Linked DNA regions of Homo sapiens: regions 1 and 3 are each linked to region 2. Evidence: promoter capture Hi-C in 16 types of primary human blood cells and fetal thymus (Javierre and others, 2016). All regions are on one chromosome and are shown on one strand. The core of a region is centred on a gene start or on the middle of the fragment in contact, and the rest is flanking DNA. Distances in the headings are between cores, read along the strand shown. Region 1 overlaps DMBX1 (diencephalon/mesencephalon homeobox 1). Region 2 holds the start of EFCAB14 (EF-hand calcium binding domain 14). Region 3 overlaps MKNK1 (MAPK interacting serine/threonine kinase 1).

What was found. The method cuts DNA at HindIII sites, captures the fragments that hold promoters and counts their contacts. A CHiCAGO score of 5 or more calls a contact.
Region 1: a fragment that was not itself captured here is called in contact with the fragment with the promoter of EFCAB14 in region 2 in 2 of 17 cell types (neutrophils and erythroblasts); the score reaches 7.1 in neutrophils.
Region 3: a fragment that was not itself captured here is called in contact with the fragment with the promoter of EFCAB14 in region 2 in 8 of 17 cell types (monocytes, M0 macrophages, M1 macrophages and 5 more); the score reaches 7.1 in monocytes.

What each region holds. Positions count from the first base shown.
Region 1 is chr1:46,492,772-46,496,595 of GRCh38, forward strand. The region is part of intron 2 of DMBX1 (diencephalon/mesencephalon homeobox 1); the gene reads left to right. Among named protein-coding and RNA genes, the nearest start is that of DMBX1, 4.8 kb to the left of the region's middle. RefSeq lists an enhancer at 1-191. The HindIII fragment of the contact is 2,341 bases long and covers 671-3,011 here.
Region 2 is chr1:46,717,266-46,721,171 of GRCh38, forward strand. EFCAB14 (EF-hand calcium binding domain 14) reads right to left here and starts at 1,849. Exons shown (of 11, transcript NM_014774.3): 1 at 638-1,849. The coding sequence starts at 822. RefSeq lists silencers at 1,654-1,703, 2,024-2,073. The HindIII fragment of the contact is 11,051 bases long and covers 329-3,906 here.
Region 3 is chr1:46,573,856-46,577,391 of GRCh38, forward strand. MKNK1 (MAPK interacting serine/threonine kinase 1) reads right to left here. Exons shown (of 13, transcript NM_001135553.4): 5 at 2,720-2,799; 6 at 1,092-1,165. Among named protein-coding and RNA genes, the nearest start is that of KNCN, 24 kb to the left of the region's middle. The HindIII fragment of the contact is 1,641 bases long and covers 440-2,080 here.

The sequences.
Region 1 (3,824 bases), core at 591-3,090, 220 kb before region 2:
ACACAAGAGGCATGGGCAGATCCACTAATCACGTAAAACCCCTCTGATAGACACAGTTCCATACTCACAGGTTAAACTCACGCAGACACTCATGCTCAACACATGCAGACACCCCGTAGGACAACAGTCCCAAGTGTCACAGCCCCACCTTGCGCAGAAGCCCCAGGCAGCCCTAGGGAGGGTGCGTCTACATTTTTGCTTGGCCTCTGCGCTCCCTATTCCCGCCACTCTCTCCAGGCCTCGAAGTTACTCCTCCTCCTCCGGCCAGTCCCAGTTCCTCAAGGAGCCAGTCTTCACCTCCCCCACCCCTGCCTTCCCATTTCGCCCCCCACCCCACCCCTTTCTCACAGTCCCGCTCGGCCGCCCCGCAGTGCCCATGTAAATGACAGCAATAAATATCTAATCAAGGCCCCGGGCGACGCCACTGCTGCCCGCCAAAGCCCATTACCGAACGAGTAGGGAGGGGCGCTGGGGTGGGTTGGTGAGCTTTCGGCAGGGTGTGTGTTCTGGTCTCCACATTCATCCTGCACTGAGTGCCTCTCCTGTCTGACCTTGAGCGAGTCTCAGTTTCCCTTTCTGTAAGAAGGGCACCGAGCTGGGCTCTCCAATGTCCAGCCCTCCCGCCGTTCAGTGGCCTCTCTTTCTATTTAGTCACCTGTCCGTTCTTCCAAGCTTATTTGACTCTGCCCCAGTGTTGCCTGATGGGTGGACATCCCAGATTGGACAGACCACAGATCCCAGCTCTGGTGGCTCTGGCCCCAACTGTTCTTCGGACTTTAGCCAGGTTTTTGCTGGCAAAGGGGAGTTCCCTGGATATGACAGCGGCAGGAGGGAGCACATTTCCCAGATGGGGTCACTCCTTCCCTCTGGTCTACAGCCACTGTGGGCGCTGCTTCCATGAGCCCCGAGGCCACTGGAGCCCACTGGGTTTCCCGGCCTGTTCCAGCCTCCACAGCTCTATCTCCAGGGTTGCTTGTGCCCCGGATGAGTTGTACATCTGTCAGTGTGCAGAGCAGGAGCCGCAACCGCGCTTTCTGCGCCCGCAGGACAGACCCTCCTCCGAGTTCCTCCAGCCGTTTGGAGGCCCTAACTTGGGCCTAGAGCAGCTCTGCTCCTCAGGGTACTCTGTAGTCCCTGTTTCCCAGCCCCGGCCTGGATCTGGATGGCCAAAAGTGGACCAGGTCATCCCTGACAGACTTTGGGCCAAGGCTAACTGAGCAGGCAGGGCCACCACTTCTGTACCCTGGAGAGGCCAGGAACATCCTGGGGTCTTAACCTATGCCCTGCTCCATCTCGGCTCCGCCCAAGTCTCCTCGATCTCCAGTGTGCTAGCTGTATCTCTGCCAGAAAGGAAGCAGAGAATCAAGCAATTACCCAGACAATTCTACTCTCAAGACTTGCAGTCAGGTCCCTTGGCCTACCCCGCCACCTACCTGCTCTCAAAAGCTGATGGATGCTGGGCCAGATTCGAGAAAAAGCAACAAAAAAGTGGCCTCTCCCATCTTCTTTCCCTTTCCTGGCTGCATTTTGCTGCCTTAAAAGAACAAAAAATTAACTCCAGCCGCCTGATTTCTCTGCACCCCCAACATTAAGGACCTCGGAAAACTGGAGGACTGTAGGCGGAGGGGCCTCCCTCAGTCTCGGCCCATTAGCCTGCGGGGGGCTAATTACCCCAATTAGTGGCTGATTTATAATTAATGGCTCGGACCAAGGGATAATTGGATGTTAATGGATAACAGTTTGTATAGGGAACTAAGAGCCCCGACTCCTTCAAAGGGCCACTGGCCGGTGGTTGGCCCTGAGACCCACCGGGACCCTGGAACTCTCCCAGTGGGTTCTTCTCCTATCCACTGGGCCCCCATCCCTGAGCCAAGAGGGGAGGTGAGAATCTCCTTTGAGGAATTTATGAGCTCTGTGTGCCCGTTATGAAGTCCAGCACCTCTTCCAATCTGACCCTTGCAAAGCCACATACTTCCAAGCCCACCTGCCTGCCATGCATAGCTCCAACTCCAGGTTCACTTTGGGGGCCCTCAGTGGAGATGAAAGGAGGATGAGCAGATTATTTGACCCCCCACAGCTCATCCCCTTCCCATATGGATCAGGCAATGCAGGGTTAACGGTGGCGATGTGGGGGTCATGATACCTATGCCACTGGCTGGGGGAGGGAACATGGCCAAGGTGAGGGCAGTGACCAGGGCTCATGTAGGATGAGGTTAGAGCTTAGTCTGTGACAAGGTCAGGGTCACAGCTGTGGCCAGAAGGTGGCTTGGCTTCTGGTGAGGACATTGGATTTTCCCTGCTGGGGCAGGGCAGAGCAGGCAGGGTGAAGAGGAAACTTTGGACATTGGCCCACTCTCATCTCCCAGAGCTGGTTTCCTCTGCCCTAGGGCATGTGACCATCTGCAATTCCCCTAGAATCTGAGCCCTTCAAGCTGGAATTCATGACACTACCCCCAAAGTCCATCGCTCAACAGGCAGTGGCTCCATCTTTATTTGTGGAATGAATGTCTGATGTCCCTTGCTCTGGGCACTGGGTCCTGAGTACTAGCTGGGGAAGCAGACCCCGCCCTGGATCAAGGTTAAGAGCTCTGGTGGGCACTGATTTCACAATTTGGAGTTAGACTCCCTCGATTCCATCCCGGCTAAGCTGCTTAGCTGTGTAGCTTTGGACAAGTGATTTTACTTCTCTGGGTCTCAGCTTCCTTATCAGTCAAATGGGGATTATGAGGTTGTGAAGATTAAATGAGATGCTGCCAGTCAGGTCTCTATGAGGATAGCTGGTAATAATAGTTATTTATTATAAAACTCTGGCAAAAGGTAGGCAAATTGGCAACTACAATTTGGTAAGGATAGGAATTTAAAGAAGTCACCGGACCCAACTGGTGACTTCTGGACCGAACCACTGCTAAAATTGGATGATTTTAGAAAATTATCCAATCTTTCTCACCTTCCATTTCTGAATCTGTAAGATGGGGATGGCAGGAGAGGCTTCCTGGAGAAAGGCGTGTGCAAGCTTAATGCAAGTCAGGAGTTCTCCAGGTCATGCTGGTGGAGGGACAACATTCCCGGAGTGGGAGGCAGCCACATAGTAGCTTTGGAGAGCCATGGCTCAGTGGTGGGTGGGAGTGTACAGGAGGGAAGGAAGGGGAGATGACAGATTTGGATATGGCTCTTAAGAAATATGGCTTTGAAGGTATCAGAGAGAACTGGTCTGAGAGATGGGTTCATTTGTTTCAAATGAGGCCTGGCCCACCCCACCCTCTGGTGGAGAGCCCTTGTTGGGAAGAATCTGGCCCCTGGCAGGGGGAGGAAGAGGCTGATCCCTGGGCTTTCTGCACCTTTGAGTGCCTGATACTGACAGGAGATTTGGGGAGCATGGAGGGTTCAGCGTAACCCAGGAATGGATATGGGGCTCTTGGAGGAGCCCCTGTAAAATAAGCGGCATCTGAGAGGTAGTAGCTGGGGATGTCATCATGTCAAGCTTGCTCTCAAACTGTGTGCCTGCAGGGTCCTTGGTCAGGGTAGGATCGGGATCTCCACAGCCCTCACATCCTATCCTCCCACTGCAGATTCCTGGCAACTCAGAACTAAGAACAGATGTGGGAACAGGGTACTTACTGGGATGGGGGCTTAGCCTTCCCCATTCCCAAGCAGGCCAGCCAAAGGGACTCACCTTCCTTGAGCCTCAACTCCTCATCTGCAATGTGGAGAGCGCCTCCCTCATAGACTTGGGGTAAGAAATTAATGAGGTGCTGAAGTTGAGGATCTGGCATGTGCCAGGGACAAAGCTTCTTTTAAAATCTTGGACCCAAAAGCTCAGAGTT
Region 2 (3,906 bases), core at 599-3,098:
AGTGTGCTCTGAGAGAGTCAAAGGACGTTTTTGAAGTTCCCTTTAGTCCTTTCCCATCCTGAGCCCCAATCCCAATGTCCTCAAATCTTACTACTTGATTTGCCTAGTGGTCTCTCCACCTATGAATGGCTAGGGAAAATGATGCCTCTTCTTTTGCCCCCCGACCCCACCTACTCTCAAGGCTCATACTTCCTACAGTATATCTCTCACCATATTTCCCCACCACCAATATTCAGACTCATCAAGAGTGCAAAAACGAAATAATCTGCAGTCTTAAAGTCTCTGCTTCTCCTTTGTTCTACACTGTTTTAAAAAGTCTAGTCCCCAAAGCTTCTCTGCTCCTCTGTCTCCATTCTTTGCTTCTTTAGGACTCCCTGGGCTCTTGGCACATTCTCCAAGTCCACATTTCCACCTCAGATTTGGAGCTTTTCTTTCTACACCTAAAGACAGATCTCTAACTTATTCTTCATTCAGGATCTGAACTTACCTTCTCCCTAAAACCGTTTTTCCCTCTTTGACTTCCAAGGCCTACACCCTTTTTTCTTCCTAAGGACTTCCTTTCTCCTTCCTGTCAATGTGGCCCCTTGGTAGTGCAAGGAGATGCCTTCTTCCCATTCCACCTTTCACCACTACTCACTTGGCAAAGCGAGAGCGATTTCCAACCACACCGAATTCCTCTTCCTCTTCGGAGCTGGACTCAGAGTCTGAGTCGGGAGGCTCAGTGCGAAGCAGGCGGTGACTGCTTGGGCCTTTCTTGGGCTTCTTTCTCCGGCTGTCCCCAGCCAAACCAATCAATGCATTGAGCTCTTTGCGCTTTTTCATCTTTTTGTGTGGGGTGAGTGGAGCCCCGACTCCTGAGCTGCCAGGTTCGTACCCGATGCCCAATTCTCTTCCTGCCTTGGAGCTGCCTTCCAGGGTTGGGAATCCTGGGCCAGAGCCCCCTGGTCACTCCCACCTAGGGGTGGGACTGACCAGATCCGCCAGGGACTGGAGATTGGAGCCCAGAGGAAACTGGAACTCAGATGGGTGGGGGAAATCACATAGAAATGGCCAAGGAGCTGGTGACCCCAAAGGATAAGGCCTTGGGTGCAGAGTGTTAGTAGAGGGTGGAGAGGGACCTTTATCTCCCAAAGGGCGAAAAAAAAGCCAGGTCAAAAATGAAGGATTCTCAGCCCGGATAAGTAGGCAATACTTCTAAGGGTGCTCCAGGAGGTGAGGAAGGGCACGCTTAAAATACGTGTTTCGGACCTCCGGAGCAAGATTTCCAATGGAGAGGGAAGAGAAACTCGTTCTTGAATGGGAAGAGAGTGGGGAGGTGCAGAGTAAGAAAGTGGGAACGCGTCAGTCCCTTCCTTGCAGGAGAGGTGGCGGCAGGAGGGGGCTCCCAGCAGCTACAATCCCAACACTGCTTGGCCGCAGAGAAAATGCCCTGGCCAGGAAGCCGGCTGGGGTGTGTGATGATCACCGTTCTCCGGCCTCCGTCCTGAACGTGAAGGGGGCCCGAGGCCGAGGAAGATCCGGAGCCCGGCTAGAAGGGTCGGCCTGAGAGAAGCCAGTCCCGCGCCTGATAGACCCCCGCCCCGCTGTCTGGGCCTTGGGGACACGGTGCCGCGGGCGACGGCGGCTCGGCCGACCGAAAGCGCTCCCGCCCGGAGTTTGAGGTCTCCGGCACGGGCAACTCTCGGCCACTCACACGCGCAGGCCCCACTCCAGCCGCGACTCCGGCCCCTGCTCCGGCTTCGGCCGCGGCTGCTCCCGACACGTTGTTGTTGGCGTTGGTGGCGGCGGCTGCGGCGGCGGCGGCCGCGAGCTCCAGCCCCGGGCCATCGCTCCAGCCCCAGATCACTTCCCCTTTGGCAGCGGCCGCCTGCGCCGCCTGCCAGTAAGCCGCACTCCCATTGGTCGCCCGCTGGGGTGACGTCACGCCGGGGCGAAAGTCGTGGCGGAGAGGTGGGGCGTTAAAGGGGCCCTGCCCCGGCTGGGGCTGGGTCCCACCTGCCGATTAGGGTGGCCCCGCCCCCAGGAGGGCTTCCGGGACCTGCTGCGAACCTGAGCCGGGTGGAGTCCTGCATCCTGCGGAGCGCGGGCGGGGCAGGCAAAGCGCCCGGCTGCTCGACCTACTTCGAAAGTTCATCAGCCGCCCACGCCCCCTGGACTAACCAAGTCTGAAGGCTCCGCCTCTCTGACTCTCACACAGGCTGTTAAAAGTTTAGGCGCGTTTCAGATTAATTAACACATTCATTCAGTCAATAAATATTTATTGAGAGCTTACTTACTACGTGTCAGGAGCTGTTCTAGCGCTGGGGATACAGCCATGAACAAAATAACCAGGGTCCTTGTCTTCCTGTATAGTGTTGCCAGATTTAGCAAATAAAAATGTAGGACACCCAGTAAAGTTTGAATTTCAGAGAAACAGCAAACAATTTTTTAGCATTAAGACATCCCATGCAACATCTGGGACATCCTCACACTAAAAAATTATTCATTGTGTATGTGAAATGCAAGTTTAACTGAGCATCGTGTATCTTATCTGCCAATCTATTCCTGCAGTTTATTTATACTCTAGAGGGAGGAGAGCAACAATAGGCAAACATATTAAATGTCAGGAGGTGATAAGTGTTATGATGAAAATTGAAACACGGTCAGGTGATGGGGAGTGCCTCTGTGAAAAGGGAACATTTAGTCAGCTTATCGGAGGAGAGGTGAGGGAATGAGCTGTGCAGTGGCTGCAGGAAGGAGTGACCAGGAAGACCTGTTGTGGCTGGACCAGAAGAGCAAGGAGCAGAGTGATAGGAAATGAGGTCAGAGAAGCATCAGAGGCCAGGGCTTTAGGGCCTTATGGATCACTGAAAGGACTTTGGGAAAGCACTGGGGGCTTTAAGCTGAGAGGTAGCATACTCTGGCTTTTCCGTAAAAAAAAAAAAAAAAAAAAAAATTCACTCTGGGCCAGCGCGATGGCTCACGCCTGTAATCCCAGCATTTTGGGAGGCTGAGGTGGGCGGATCACAAGGTCAGGAGATGGAGACCATCCTGGCCAATATGGTGAAACCTTGTCTCTATTAAAAATACAAAAATTACCTGGGCGTGGTGGTGCGCGCTTGTAATCCCAGCTACTTGGGAGGCTGAGGCAAGAGAATGGCTTGAAACCGGGAGGCGGAGGTTGCAACAAGCCGAGATTGCACCACTGCACTTCAGTCTGGCAACAGAGCGAGACTCCGTCTCAAAAATAAATAAATAAATAAATAAATAAATAAATAAATAAATAAATAAATAAATAAAATAAAATAAAATAAAGGAAAAAATTACTCTGGCTACTTTGTAGAAAAAAGTGGGGGGAGAGTGAGGAACACAGGAGAGCAGTTTGTTACAGTCCAGCTAGAGATGATGCTGATAGATTAGAGAGGCAGTAGCAGAGATGGAGAGCATTCTGGATGTTTCTTGAAGACAGAGCTGACAATTTTTGCTGATAGATTAGATGAAAGGTGTGAAGAGAAGAGAGGGTTTGGCGGTGGAAACACTGGAAGCAAGGAATTGTTATTTATTGAGATGGGGTAGAGCAAGTTTGGGACAAGTTTGACAAGCCAATTCAATATTCAAATGGAGGCTGTTTGGTATACCCATTGAGAGTTCTCTGGGCACAGGTTGGGGCCTGAAATATCAATTGGGAAGTCATCAGATATAAATGGAATTTAAAGCAAAGTGCTTTGAGCTACTTGGAAGAAAGTCACTTAAAGTAATTTTTATGCCCATATTCTTACTGTGGCAATTACGCTGCTTTTGTCCAAGGATTCTCGCAAAGCCTGGGCCTGTATCTGATTTGTTTTTAAGTGTCTAGCCCAGAAGTGTACTCCTAAATAACGATGACCCAATAAATATGTGATGACTACATAAGTGGGCAGTGTTGCA
Region 3 (3,536 bases), core at 10-2,509, 140 kb before region 2:
CCTGAGTAGCTGGGATTACAGGCATGTGCCAGCACACCCAGCTAATTTTTGTATTTTTAGTAGAGCCGGGTTTCACCATGTTGGCCAGGCTGGTCTTGAACTCCTGACCTCAAGTGATCTGCCCACCTTGGCATCCCAAAGTGCTGGGATTATAGGCGTGAGCCACTGTACCTGGTCTACTCTACATACTTCTAAGACATCCCCCAGCATACCAAATTGTTTTAATAATATTAGCAGCCAACATTTATTGGGCCCTTAGTGCCTACCAGACACTGTCCTAAGCATTTCACATGAATTATCTCATTTAATCTTCACAGCAACCCAGTGAGGTAGGTGCTATCAATATCTCTATTTTATAGAAGGGAATATTGTTTAGAAAAGGTTAAGTGACTTGCCCAAGATCACATGGCTAGTAAGTGATGCAGCTAGACATAACATAAGCTTTAGCTGTGTTGGTTTCTAAAGCACGCTCCCTCAACCACCAAGCCCCTCCGTGTGGCCCTCCATGCAGTTCCAGACATCCCTGCAAGTGTGTCCTAAGATTGGGGGAGTGATGGGAAGGGAAAGGGTTTCTCTACCCCACCTCATTATGTCAGAAAAGCAACTTAAGTATACACCCCAGTGATTATGTGTGTGGGTGATGGCATCTTTCCATCTGAAGGATGGCACATTCTCAGGCTTCCCCTTTATCCTGGGTCTGTGTCCCAAACAATAGGACCCTCCTCTCCTCTGTTTTAGCCTTTCTAGACTTCGCAATGTATTTGAGAGCTTCCACCCCATAATTAATGTAGTTAAACAGTGAACATGTCAAAACGGGATTGATAAATCGATGACTAAATGTATCTATATATGACTCCTATTATAATGAAAAGGCATTTATAAAATACCCACACAGGTGACATTCTAAGCTCTGCAAAATGCTAATTATCATCCTTCCCTCCGGCCTCCCTTCTCCCAAATCAAGGGCAGTTTTTAAGTCCTTCATCCTTTTTATTAGCTTGACTCGTTTTGGAAGTCTCTGGGATTCATGATGGATGATCACCACCCTGGGTCTTAATCAGAAGTCCACACACATACTCAACGGTAAGTACCTCCTTGCAATTTCTCAAAGACCAAGTAAAACCTTGTGTCATCTTCAAAGAACTCAATCAGCTCCAAAATGTTCCTTAAATAGGGAAAATAGGAGGAGAGGGAAAAGGGGGGAAATGGTATTATATATTAAAGTCTACTTACAAATATACAATGAAAAAAATATACAACACCTGGTAGTGGGGCAGAAACCAACTTGAAATCAGAATGCTTATTAAAGACCCGCGTATGGAAGCAGCCAATGGTGTTAGCAAGATTCAGGTCACCTTATCTTTCCATAATGTTTAGTCTCTGGTGTTTTCACCAAGTCTGTGCTGTCAAACCCCAGCCCTAAAACCCACTAGGTAGAGTTATAAAAAAGTCCCGGTCACATTAAACTGAATAAAATCTGCAGCCGACTGGAAGCAATTGCGGCTAATAACACTGAATACTAGGTGTGTGTCCTGGAGGCAAGCAGCAAATAATTACTTGCCCTCCCTCTTGCCCATAAATCACGGGGCAGTATTTACATTGCCTGGAGAAAATGGAAACATCTGTCAAATGGACTTGGGGCCTAACATGGGCACCGCTAGACCCTAACTGCTAAGCGCTGCTTAATGAAACGGCCGCGTTCCTGGCCACTGTAGCACTTGTGGCCTTCCCCGGTGAGCACTCTCTGTCTGCCCGAGTATTTCAGTGCTCTGCCAACAAGGTCGTCTTGTAACTCAGTAGGGAAGCCACCAGCCTGGATATTGGAGGTGTTGTGGGCTTTTTTTCTTTTACAAAATAAAATAAACCAAGTAGAGTCTCTAATGCTGAACTAAGAAGCTGCAGGGCTGAAAATAAAAATCTGTCCCTCATAAAAAAAATGCTGACTACTTTGGGAGATATGAGGCTTTTACTAGTGTGAAGGCATCCAAATAAGATGGGCAAAATGGCCTAATTTGAAAGAAGATTGTGGAGGCAGTGCCTGGAGTTAAATCAACAGCAGCCCCCGTCCTCCAATCCTCCAAGCTTAATGACAAAGCCATCAATACCAGGCCACTGGCTCCCTGCTGACCCTACCGTGGAGGGAGAGAGGGGGAAGTGGAGTCTTAGAGGTGCCCCTGATTTAAAGCCACAGTGGGAGAGCTGCTCATTTGGAGCTGGTGGTGGGCAGAATGAACTGGGGCTAGAGATGAGCCGGACCCAGCTATCTGGAAGGTTCCAGGATCTTAGTGGTATCTGCACATATGTAAACATTCTAGGAGCAGAAACAGCAGCAAATATTCTTAACAGTTCTCCTCATCTTGGTATTAAGGCAAGTCCTTAAAGATTTCTACCAGGCAACACTCAGTCAACCTAGTTTCCACAGGTACCGAAAGAAATAAAACCCCATTTCCCCCCAACAACCACTGATTCAGATAGTTCATTCTTCTAACTTGCTTGAATTGATGATATTTACAGTATTTCAGAAGAGATAATAGCTCCTTTGCTGTTACTGCTGCTTTTCCTTTCTCTCCCTAACACTGAAAGGGGCGGAAGGAGGTACCTGCCTTGTGGGGACAGGAGTGAGAGCTAAATGCTGGAGTCAGGAGATGGTAAGAAATAGCCTCCTCTTCTGTGGCCAAGCGTCCCCCCAGAGAAGCAGCGAGAATCACATGATACTCACTTGTTTCCCTGACACTGATACAGCGTCTCCACCTCTCGAAACACCCTACTCCGACTGTGCCCTGCTTGTTTCTCGATGATCTGTGGGAAGAATAAAATCTGTCATGTACACCCACCTGACTTCCAAACAGCCCTTTGGCAGGAGTCCTCTGGGAGAATGCAAGGCCACACTCAGTCCAAATCCAGTGTCCAGCAGAAGTCTGGCCTAGGCCTTGGTGACACCGGCACTGTGGCTCTGTTGGCAAAGCAGCAGACTGGCCTCAGGGCTTTCCAGCTCAGCTGAGCCCATTCCACTCTGGCCAAGCACAACACCAAGGAAGTGAATGAGGCTGCTGCCCCCAGCTGCCCAGGGGAGACTGAGGCAGCCGGCAAGACAAAGAGCTACCTTACTCAGCTCCACCTCCTGTGGACACCTCTTTCTGCCTTAAGGGTAAGCATTTACTGCATCTACTGAAGGATCTTCTCATGCTGGAGGGAGAGGCTGATGCAGGACACCGTGGCGAGGAGCTAAAGCTTTGACACCCAGCTCAGAGGCTGCCTCCACGATCCCCCTGGCAGAAGTAGGCTCTTCCTCTTCTGAGAACTTACTCTCTGGCAGATACTGTGTTAAATGATTTATTTACGGCCGGGTGTGGTGACTCACACCTGTAATCCCAGCACTTCTGGAGGCTGAGGTGGGTGGATCACCTGAGGTCAGGAGTTCTAGACCAGCCTGGCCAACACGGTGAAACCCCGTCTCTACTGAAAATACAAAAAAATTAGCCAGGCGTGGTAGTGGGTGCTTGTAATCCCAGCTACTCAGGAGGCTGAGGCAGGAT